2 separate regions of the Homo sapiens genome follow, and region 1 is linked to region 2. Evidence: promoter capture Hi-C in 16 types of primary human blood cells and fetal thymus (Javierre and others, 2016). All regions are on one chromosome and are shown on one strand. Each heading gives the region's core, a stretch centred on a gene start or on the middle of the fragment in contact. The rest is flanking DNA. Distances are from core to core; before and after follow the strand shown.

Region 1 (5,472 bases), core at 384-2,883, 180 kb after region 2:
CATTACAGGAGACATGGGGGTGACCATAGCAATTTAGCTGATAAATGTATCAGAAACTCTTTCATCATTTTCTGTCCCCTCCTATCTTAGGCTGACCGGTTCCCTGATGTGTTACCTGCTTCTGCTACTGATCCAAACTGCAGAACTTCTCATTCATCCCCAAGGCCTCCAGGCAGTATCCAATGGGGAATCAGCTCTAAAAGGAACCAGACCAACGTTTTCCAGCCCCTTCATTCTGGTGACTGAGGGGAGGAAAGAATGGGAGGGGGTATTCTTGTCTAGTGGATGGAAAGGAAACACACTGTCAAATTACTATATCTCCTTGGTTTTCTATTACAGTAGAATTCTCCAGCCATATTTTTATTGTCTATGGGGGAAGTTGGAGATGGTGACCTTGATTAGAAGTGTCTGGAGGGGGATAAATGGAGGGGATAAGATTCAGTTGGTTTTGGAAAATGTTAAAGTCTTAAAATAATGCGTCCATCTGAAGAATTTTTTCTAAAACCAGAGTTTATAAAAATATCACTGATACAGCCTGCCCCCTCATTTCCCTGCCACAGGAGATGTCTTGGACTAGAGACACTTGTTTAATAATAGCTTGTCTCTGATATTCCCAGTAGCTTCCCTCTGTGTGAGGAAAGGATAGAAATGTTCAGGACATCATCATACAGGCTCCTCATCTACAAAGTTCCAGTAGCAGTGACGCCTACACGGAAGACTTGGAACTGCAAACAGGCTGGGGTCACCTCAGTGACATCTGACGCTGTCCAACCAGAAGTTCGATTTTTGTTCTGGGGGTGAAGGAGGAAACAGACTGTACTAAAGGACTAAAATAATTTGTCTATACTATCTCACTTGTTTTTATTTTTGGCGGGAGAGGAGGGGTGTTGGGATAGAATTTCACATCCTATCTTGGAGTGAAGGGGAGGATGGGGAGGCTCAGCCCTTCACCCAAGAATAACCCAGTAATGACATCTCTACGCGTGGGAAGTGTTTCCCTCCACACTGAGAGGATCTGAGGCTGCACCCCAGTGGGATTCCCTGCTTGAGTTGGAAGGCCATCTCGCCATGAGATGCATATCATAGCGAGAGCGCAGAGGGCTTAGCCGGCCGGGGAGGAAATGCCAAAAGGAAGAGAGGCTCGAAGTCGAAAGGGCTTCCCCCAGTTTGGAGGTGGGGACCATGCTGTGCATGAGCGACTGAAGAGCCGAGTGTCCGCCGTGGCCTGTGCCCTCCGCTGAGGGTCTAACAGGGACGCGACGGTGCTGGACACCGTGTCTGAGTCACGGGAGACGGCCCAGCTGTGCCCAGCGGGCCAGCGCCAGACCCTGGCGTCCTCCATCTTCTCTCCTGAGCTCCCCCTGCTCCAGCTGCCTGAGCCACGGACCGCAGCACCACACACCCCCGCGGGGGGGGACGCCGCGCCCCATCCCCGCCCCGGGCCCCACCCCAGCCCCCCCGCGGGGGCCCTGACCCCACCGCCAGCGGGCACTGGCTGAGCTCCGAGGCGGCGAGCCGGCAGCGGGGACGCCCAGAGGGGGTCCGGGCGACTGGGGGCGGCGGCGGCCGGGCCGGGGCTCCCCCCCCGCCCGCGCTCGCCGCCGCGGTGGTGCGTCCCGGAGGTTACCGGAAGTGGCCGCGCTCGGCGCTGCCATGTTGAGGAGCCGCCGCTGCCGTTGCCGCCGCCGCCGCCGCCGCTTTGTTGTCGCCTCCTCCGGCTGAGGAGGCTCCCCGAGCGGGGGGAGTGGGGAGGAGGGGGGTCGGCCGCCGCAGCCATGGAGGCCAACTGGACCGCGTTCCTGTTCCAGGTACTGGGGGCCCCCCCGGGGGGGCACGGGGGGGACAGGGGGGCCGGGCCCCGGGCTGGCGGGCGGGCGGGCGCTCCTCCTCCCCTCCCTCCCGGCTCCGCTCTCCGGCCCGGCCTTAATCCCCCTTTGTTTTTCCGCCCGCCCGCCCCGGCGAAGCGGGGCTGCTGAGGTGAAAGGAGGCGGCCTCACGGGGTGCGGGGGAGATAGCAGGCCGCGGGGTGAACCCGGGGGCCCCCCAGCACACACACGCACACACACACACTCACACACACCCTTCCCTCTCGCTCTGAAGGGGAAGGGAGGAGGCCGGTCGCTGTCACCACCCCGCGGCCCAGAGAAAGGAGGGCGCCGGGCCGCTGGATAGCGCGGGCTGCTGGGCCATTGCGTGCCGGCCCGGTCCCCCACGGTGGGGTGAGGAGGTCCCCAGGTCCTGCCCTGAGTCTCCTCCCCGCCACTTCATCCATCTTTCGCTTGTTCTCTTTTCACCTTCCTCGTCTTTTTGTGTGTGTGCGTGCGTGTGTTGACTTTCTGACCCCCTCCCGTGTCCCCGCGAATAGCGGGTATCCCCAGGTTCCCCGCCACTCCCCCTCACCGCCACCACCCCTCTCGTGTTTACCCAGTTGGGGGGGCGGATGTTGTGAGTGTGTATCCCCTCCCCAAACTTTTTCACTGGATTTACATTTTTTTTTCCCAAGTCTCAGCCGAGCCTTGGCAGCTGACACCTTCTCCCTCTGTCCAGCTCTCCCGCCGTCCCATTCAGCCTGGGGAATCCCCCAGCCGGGCCGGCCCGGGGCAGGCGGGGAGCGGTGGGGGCCGGGACTCCTGGAGGCCCGACCTTCTCCCGAAGCGCTTTTCTTTCTCGCCCACCTCGAACGTTTCCTCCAACCAAGTGGAGAGAGCAAACAAAGTCCGCTTACAAAGCCCCCAGATGAGTCACTCTCTGGGATGTTGGTCTTCGCTTTTTTGCAAGAAACTTGAAAGTGACTGTAGCCGATGTGTTTTGGCAATTCTCTTGCCCGCCCACTTTAGATGGGGGACCCCTGTTTGGCAGATCTAGGCTGGAACTTATTTTTTTCCTACTTCGTTTCTGTTTGCAAAACGAAGCATTCAGTGGGCAGTAGCGATGAGCTCACGGGGAAACTTCGGAACTGGAGGAGGTTAGGAAGCTCGTCACTTTTAAGTGCGTTCTTCCCGCCTCTCTGAGTTATTTTCCTTTGAATACTTCGTGAAATCCCAAACGCGTAGCTGGGGCGCTTGATACCTTTTGAAACTAACAGGAACGGATGCAGAATTTTCAAAAAATTATTCTCCCAGCCACTGGATTCATCCTAGTGGAGTTAATATAGAGAATTGGATAACTCAGAAATTACCTACTGTGTAGACTGGCCTGTTGTTTTAAGACATATTTTTTCAAATGTGGGCAATTTGATCTTTAAGTAGTTATGGAAATATATTTGGGCTTCTTAAAATCTAAAATACCCAACATTATGGAATTCATGAACTTCCCCCTTTTCTCATTCTGATCAGTGTTGTTTTATTGTACTTTGATGAGCTTGCTAATAATGTGATAAACCAACTTGAAAATGCATTGGAAAAGAAATGATATATAACTAGCATGCATCCAGGTTGGTGTAAAGGTGGCAAATACTTTCCCCAGAAAAAAGCTCAAATGGTTATTTTAAAATATGGGATTGATGTGCCACTGAAGTGATTTTCGTGTGATTAAAAACCATATTAAGCATGGTGTCTATAGAGATTGAAAAAAAAAAGTGTTCTTCATGTAAAGGAAAAACCCATAACACATCTTTGGAAAGCTGGTTGAAAAATCTTTTGAAATACTTTTTTAAAGATTATTTTTCTCCTGGGTAAAACAAATGCCAAGCGTTTATTGATCAACTTTTTAATTAGATTTTATATTATTTAATTTTTTTCAGCTATTAAAATCTTTTTTTCCACCTGATGGAGAAGTGTGAAAACAAATATTTAATCCTGGGCTTGGCAATGTGTGCAGTGAAATTTGTTGGAAAACTTAAAATTTAGAGCCGAGAGCAGTTGAATGGGTAAAGAGAATATTTCAGTCTTTTCTATGGAAAGGTATGAATAGACTTAATCAGTTCTGGTTTTAAGTAATTTTCACTGGGGATATGGAGTTAAATTATCTTGTTTGTTTCCTGGAGCATCCTGTTGAATTTATATTTTGAAACAATTTAATACCTGCTTGCTTTCCAGATAACTTGGTGGAAAGTGAAAGCTATAGCTATTAAAATGTTTGATGGATGATTCTTCTAACAGGACATTCAAGATGTGACTCACCGATGTTAATTTGTTCAGTACAAAATCTTTTACCCTCTGGCACTGGAGATTTCATGGTGCCATATCCTACTACCCTGGGTGATGAAATAACATTTCTGTTTTGTTTCTTGCCAGCCCCAGGAAAAGGAAAGCTTGGGCAGGGTTAAAAAGCCTTGCAGTTGAAAGAGATGGGATATAAAATTAAAACTTTGGTTTGATGATGCTAGTCAAATAAAAGCCTACCCAGAAGTTATATTTTTAAAATAAATCACTTAACTGAAGGCTGGCCGTGGTTGTTATTTTACTCTGTCTCTCCCCCAGAGAAGAAGTTGGGAAAACCCAGTTCCCCCTTAGAAGGCTTCTTGTAGAAGTGTGGGGATCCTAGGAATCCTCAGAGAGTGATTCCTGTAGTGGTTCTGCAGCATTTCACCCAAGAAGCAGGGACCTGGTGTGACCCTCCTGTGAGAGTGAGCTTCAGCAATGCTGTAAAAATACTTTATGTTGCCACAGACATCTGAATTGGTAAAATGGCAGTAAGTGCTTTTAGTACTCCATCGTACTAATGGTTGTTTAGAGTTGAAAAATGCCTCTAAATGCTATAAGTCTGAACTTTGTCCAGAAGATCTGCATTCCCTATTATCTGATCTGTTAGCCTTTGAAATTGTATATCTTCAGCTATCTTCAGCTATTAACTATTTGTATACTGTATGGAAACGAGTATCCTACAGCCAGGTTGGAAAAGGGGTTACAACTGGAGTCCAAATTCTGTAAAGTTTCTGCTGATGTCACCTGGGTAGATAGACCCTTACATTTACAGGAGCTTCACAAATTAGATTAAAAGCGGACTGTAATTTGCTAGGAGCAGTTAAGTCCAGAAAGAGACTCATAAGTAACCACATAATTTCTGAGAATGCTTCCAGGACTCAAAGGGTGATTACATCAAAATTATTAAATTGAAACTGAGAACTCTGGATACCACACCTCCTAATCGTTTGGGGGAGACTAGTTCCAGGCTTAACTGTTATGCTGCCATCAAGTAAACATAGAAGCAATGTGTGGTAGATGTTCTTACCCATCAGAGGAGGAGCTGTGAGTGTGTGTGTGTTTCTCTTTGTTTTTTTGTCCTTAAGTTAGCTGTGGGACTTGTGGTTATAGAGTAAGAAGGGTAAGTAACCGTCTAAAGTGTCTAAAATGATGGGATGGGCCCCTAGTAGGACATTGTATGCTTAAAATATTTGAAACTCCTCTTGAGTGCATGCATCTTATTAGGATTACAAAACTCAAGCATAGGGGCTTGGGCTCACTGTCAAGAGTTTCAAAAATAATGTTGGTAAAGAACAACGTATTAGGAAGAACTATTTCAGGAATTTTT
Region 2 (5,206 bases), core at 2,011-4,510:
GGAAGAGAGAGTAAGAGGGAGGCACCACACACTTTTAAATGACCAGATCTCATGAGAACTCACACACTATTGCAAGGTCAGTACCAAGGGAAGGATGGTGCTAAACTATTCGTGAGAAATTCATCCCCATGATCTAATCACCTCCCACCAGGCATCACCTCCAACACTGGGGATTATAATTCCACATGAGATTTCATGGGACACAGGTCCAAGCCATATCATTTGTCTACAGGCATTTAACAAAGTTACTGTAAAGCCATTAGATGACTATGAACTAAGGAAACAGATTTCAGAGGCCATATTTGACAAAAAAAAAAGTTTTAAAAGTCACTAAACAAACAACTGCAACTCACAGCAAGAAAAAACAACAAATAATAGGGAGCAGGAAGAAAATTATTTCCACTCCTACAACATTATAATATTTAAAATGTGCGGTTTTCACAAAATATTATGAGACATGCAAACAAACAAGAGAGTATGGCCCTTTCAAGGGAAGAAAAGAAATTAGCAGAAACTTCCTGAGAAAAAACAGACATTTGACTTAACTAGACAAAGACTTTAAAGCAACTTTCTTGAACATAGAGTAAACTATGGGTAAAGAATTAAAGGAAGAAGAATGTTTTACATAGAAAATATCAAAAAAGAGAGAGAAATTGATTTAAAATAAGAAATAGTCTGGAGCTGAAAAGTACAATAAAAGTAACTGAAATGAAAAGTTCACAGGACGGTTTCAATAGGAGCTTTCGAGTAGGTAGAAGAAAGAATCAGCTGGGCCTGGTGGCTTACACCTGTAATTCCAGCACCTTGGGAGGCCGAGGCGGGTTGATCACGAGGTCAGGAGTTCAAGACCAGCCTGGCCAACATGGTAAAACCCTGTCTCTACTAAATATACAAAAATTAGCTGGGTGTGGTGACACGCGCCTGTAGCCCCAGCTACTCAGGAGGCTGAGGCAGGAGAATTGCTTGAAACTGGAAGGCGGAGGTTGCAGTGAGCCAAGATCACACCATTGCACTCCAGTCTGGGCAACAGAGTGAGACTGTCTTAAAAAATAAAAATAAAATCAATGAATCTGAAGATAGGTTAGTTGAGTTCCAAGATTTCTGTTTGACATTTTGGAATCATTTCAGTCTCTTTGTTAAATTTCTAAATTGCTTTTCTGTGTTTTCTTGGAGATCAGTGAGTTTCCTTGAAACTCCTATTTTGAATTCTTGGTCAGAGAGCTCACTAATCACCATCTTGTTAGGATCAGTGACTGGATTTTTGCTTTTTCCTTTTGAGGAAGTCATAGTTCCCTGTTTGCTGTTGTTTCTTGTGGGTATGTATCCATCTTTCCAGTTTTCTCTGTACAGCTTGTTTTGGTTTTTATTGAATACATTTGCTTATTGAATCTTCACTGCTAGGTCACTGCCTCTATTCGACTCTAGGTGGTGCCTTAAGCCCAGGTTCACCTCAGGACTAGTAAATGGTTGAAGCACTTCCTGTCTCAAATCAAGGAGATCCCAAAGAGATTATCCTGGCAGTGTGGGAAGTCTGGCTAGGGGTTTGTGCCCAGGGGACCTGGGGAACATGCCTCCTACAGCATGGTGCTGCTGGACAGCAACTCTGAGTTGGTGTCTCCTTTGGCTGAGTTACAGAGCAGAATTTCTCTGCCTTTCTTCGGGGACATTTCTTCTTTCAGGCAGTCATGATGCTATCTGTGGATTAAGGCAAGAACAGTTCTCCTGCCAGGGACCCCAAGAAGGTAAGGAAGCTGGTGGGCCACCTCAATTTCAGTTTTTCCAGTGTAGAAACTGTAGTTGGGAGGAGATTTTTTGGCACTTGGTGCTGGACAGAATGGGGATGAGGGGTGTCCCAGATGTGGAAGTCTGATTCTCCTATCAGCTGCTTGGACTTTTTTCATCCCTCTGTGGCCCCAAGAACTGTCTCACTCTTATACTTGAGCTCTGGGTTGTTTCTGGTGTAGATCTCAGTGCTATATATTTGTTTTTGGTTCTGTGGAAGTCGGGGAGTGAATCCAATTTTCCTCTATGATGGCATTTCGGAATCAGAGGTCTAGAGATATTATAGGTCAATTGAAATCATCCAGTCTAAGGAGCAAAAAGAAGAATAAACGAAAATGAACATAGGCTCAGAAGCCTGTGAGACACCATCAAGGATACCAAGACACACACATAATGAGAATCCTGGAAGAAGAGGAGAGAAAGGCGCAGTAAAAATAGTTTAGGCAATAATGGTCACAACTCCAACATGGAGAAACCCCATCTCTACTGAAAATGCAAAACTTAGCTGGGTGTGGTGATGAGTGAACTCCGGCCTCGGCAGCAGAGTGAAACTTCGTCTCAAAAAAAGCACTCTCCAATAGCCAAAACCTGGAAACAACCCAAATAAACTTATTTTCACAGTGGAATATTCTACAGCAGAGCAAATGAATGAATTAGAGCCAAACATCAACATGTTATGTTAGAAACATAACATGGAGTGAAAAAAGCAAATCCCAGAATATTATGTACAGTACAATATCTTTATAAAACTCCAAAGTAGCAAAACAATATACTGTTTATGTAAAAAAAGTGATGAAACTATTTTATACAAGCAATGAAGTGATAAACATGAAATTCAACAGAGTGATTTCTTCTGGATAGGAATCAAGGTGAACACAATGGAGAGGACAATACAGGTGAAGGCAAGTTATTGGTAACTTCTGGTTCTTGAATCGAGTAGTGTATACATGAGCATTTATACATAATGACATAAGTTTCATAATGTGCATGCATTGCCCATGATCTTTTATTCAAAATTTGTATATTATATTAAAATGTAAATATAGAGAGAAAAAGCTTGAATACTCATAATAATTTCATATTTGAAAATAAAATACAATCATTTTTAAAAGCTTGGAAGATAACATATAGTTATATGATTTACTTGTTGTTTTATCACAAAATTTTTTTATTTGAATCTCATAACAAACATAGAATATTTTAGGGGCACATACTAATTTAAGCAAATTGGTGAGGGAGAAATCATGAGGCCAAGAAAAGCTGGGTGGCTTACTCGAAGTCATCAGTTTGGTCAATGATGGGTCAGGGCCTCTAATTTAGAGCTTAAGACTCCAAATTCTGTGCTGTTCCCAACAACCCAGACTCACACCAAAAGGAAATATTGGGAAGAGAGCTCAAAATACGGAAAATAGAAATGTTCGCACAGGGGAAATGCTGTCAACAGGAAACTGTCCACCAAGAAGGTGAAAAGGAAGGTGTGGTTTTCAGGGGCCATGTGAACAATTCTCATTGTTGCGAGTGTGTTAAAACTCTTTATCACAAACCTTAACCACCAAAGAGGATACTTTCTTTTTTCCTAAAACACGAAGTTGCTTAGTTTCAAAATTCATTCCCTGCTATGATGAACCTCAACACACTATGAAGAGAGCAAAGGTAGTAGCTCCCTCTCCACTTCACAAAGGGAAAACAAAGCCAAAGAGAAGAAACCTACCATTGTCACTCTCAAACCAGCCGGTGTCTCCCTAATCTTCTCACTGCTGCCTGCATGTCCTGGTTCCTCAGGGTATAGATCATGGGGTTGAGCATGGGGGTCATGACTGTGTGGCCGATGGACACAAGCTTGTCCATAGGGAATGGAGTGAAGGGCCGGGCATAGAGGTAAATGCTTGGAACGAAGATCATGGAAACCACGATGATGTGGGTGGTGCAGGTGGAAGCTGCCTTCCTTCTTGCCTCCCCTGGATGTGACCTCAGCATCACCAGGATGAATAAGTAGGACATCAGGAGGAGGAAGAACCAGACGACATCCAGCAGCCCACTGTTGGAGATCTTGAGGAACTCCAGCAGTGAGGTGTCAGTGCAGGCAAGTCTCAGTACTTGGGGAACATCACAGTAGAAGTTATCCAAAATGTTGGGGCCACAGAAGGGCAGTGGGAGCATCAGAGCCAGCTGGACAATAGAGTGGACAAAGCCTCCCACCCAGGTGGCTACCACCAGCCCCACCCAGAGCTGAGTGTTCATGACGGTGACATAGCGGAGGGGCCGGGAGATGGCAATGAGGCGGTCAAAGGCCATCACTGAGAGGAAGAAGACCATGGCACCTCCCAAAAAGTGGAAGAAGAAGATCTGACCCATGCAGCCCTGGTAAGAGATGGTTTTCTTCTCAGAGAGGAGGTCCACTAGCATTTTGGGAGCAGTGACTGAAGAGAAACAGAGGTCTAGGACAGCCAGGTTTCGGAGCAGAAAGTACATGGGTGTGTGGAGCTGGGAATCAGAGGTCACTGTGATGATGATAAGGATGTTTCCCATAACAGTGGTGATGTAGACAAACAGGAACATTAGAAACAGGAAACGCTGGAGCTCCCGAGTCTGCGAGAGCCCCAGGAAGACAAAGTCTGATACCCACGTGAGGTTCCCTGTTTCCATGGTGTTTTCTCCATACACCTGAAGAAAATGAACCACAGACACAGATACATGAAGTCACTACTTTCCCTTTCAGGGCTCAGGGGCTCAGAACCAAGGTTTTAGGCCCATATGATGAGCATCCTTATGTGTAGACCATTATACTAGGTGCTGTCTTGTCTCTGGATCGTTTACAAGTGGGTGCTGGAATATACATTCCTGAAATCTTAACGCCATCCAGAAGTATATACAACCTGCCTTTCAAAGATTCATATAGTGGTGGGAAGACACTTGGAGTCAGATACATCTGAAGTCAAATTTCAGGTCTTTCATTTCATTGTGATTTGACCATGAGTAACTTACTTAATCTTTCTGGGCCTCAGTTTTCACGGGAATTTGTAAGGTAGAAATAAAAATACCTGCTTTGTAGAATTTTCTGAGGACTTAAGTAGAATGATAGATATAAAGTTCCTAAAACAGTGTATGGAATAATCAATGGCAATTACTCACCTGTGTGAATTCTCTTAATCTAAAGATATCCTCTCTTCCACTCTGTAATAAGATTCTTTGCCAATTATTTTTCACATGACATTTAATACATCATCGTGTTAATGGATTTTCCTTGTCTATATTTTCCCTCCACAATTCAACTATTAAGTCCAAAGCCTATATCTGGATCTCACAATTTATTTGTGCCCTGCAGTACCCATTCTTAATGACAGTTAACTTAAAAAGCTCTTGGTGTTGACTGCTGCATGGGTGAATAGCTATCAGGTGCACAAGTTCAGCACAAGGAAGACAC

Evidence for each region. The method cuts DNA at HindIII sites, captures the fragments that hold promoters and counts their contacts. A CHiCAGO score of 5 or more calls a contact.
Region 1: a contact is called between the fragment with the promoter of VEZF1 here and a fragment that was not itself captured in region 2, in 4 of 17 cell types (total CD8 T cells, non-activated CD4 T cells, naive CD4 T cells and 1 more). The highest score is 7.1, in total CD8 T cells.

The regions. Positions count from the first base shown.
Region 1 is chr17:57,984,415-57,989,886 of GRCh38, reverse strand. It overlaps VEZF1 (vascular endothelial zinc finger 1), which reads left to right and starts at 1,633. Exons shown (of 6, transcript NM_007146.3): 1 at 1,633-1,808. The coding sequence starts at 1,776. LOC101929185 (a long non-coding RNA gene) reads right to left here and starts at 1,777. Exons shown (of 1, transcript XR_001752716.3): 1 at 1-1,777. It also overlaps a transcript of SRSF1 not described here. RefSeq lists enhancers at 1,031-1,170, 1,191-1,240 and silencers at 1,391-1,670, 1,741-2,220, 2,301-2,370. The HindIII fragment of the contact is 4,468 bases long and covers 1-4,254 here.
Region 2 is chr17:58,168,878-58,174,083 of GRCh38, reverse strand. OR4D2 (olfactory receptor family 4 subfamily D member 2) reads right to left here. Exons shown (of 2, transcript NM_001004707.4): 2 at 2,968-4,446. The coding sequence starts at 4,428. The coding sequence ends at 3,505. Among named protein-coding and RNA genes, the nearest start is that of OR4D2, 4.5 kb to the right of the region's middle. The HindIII fragment of the contact is 727 bases long and covers 2,897-3,623 here.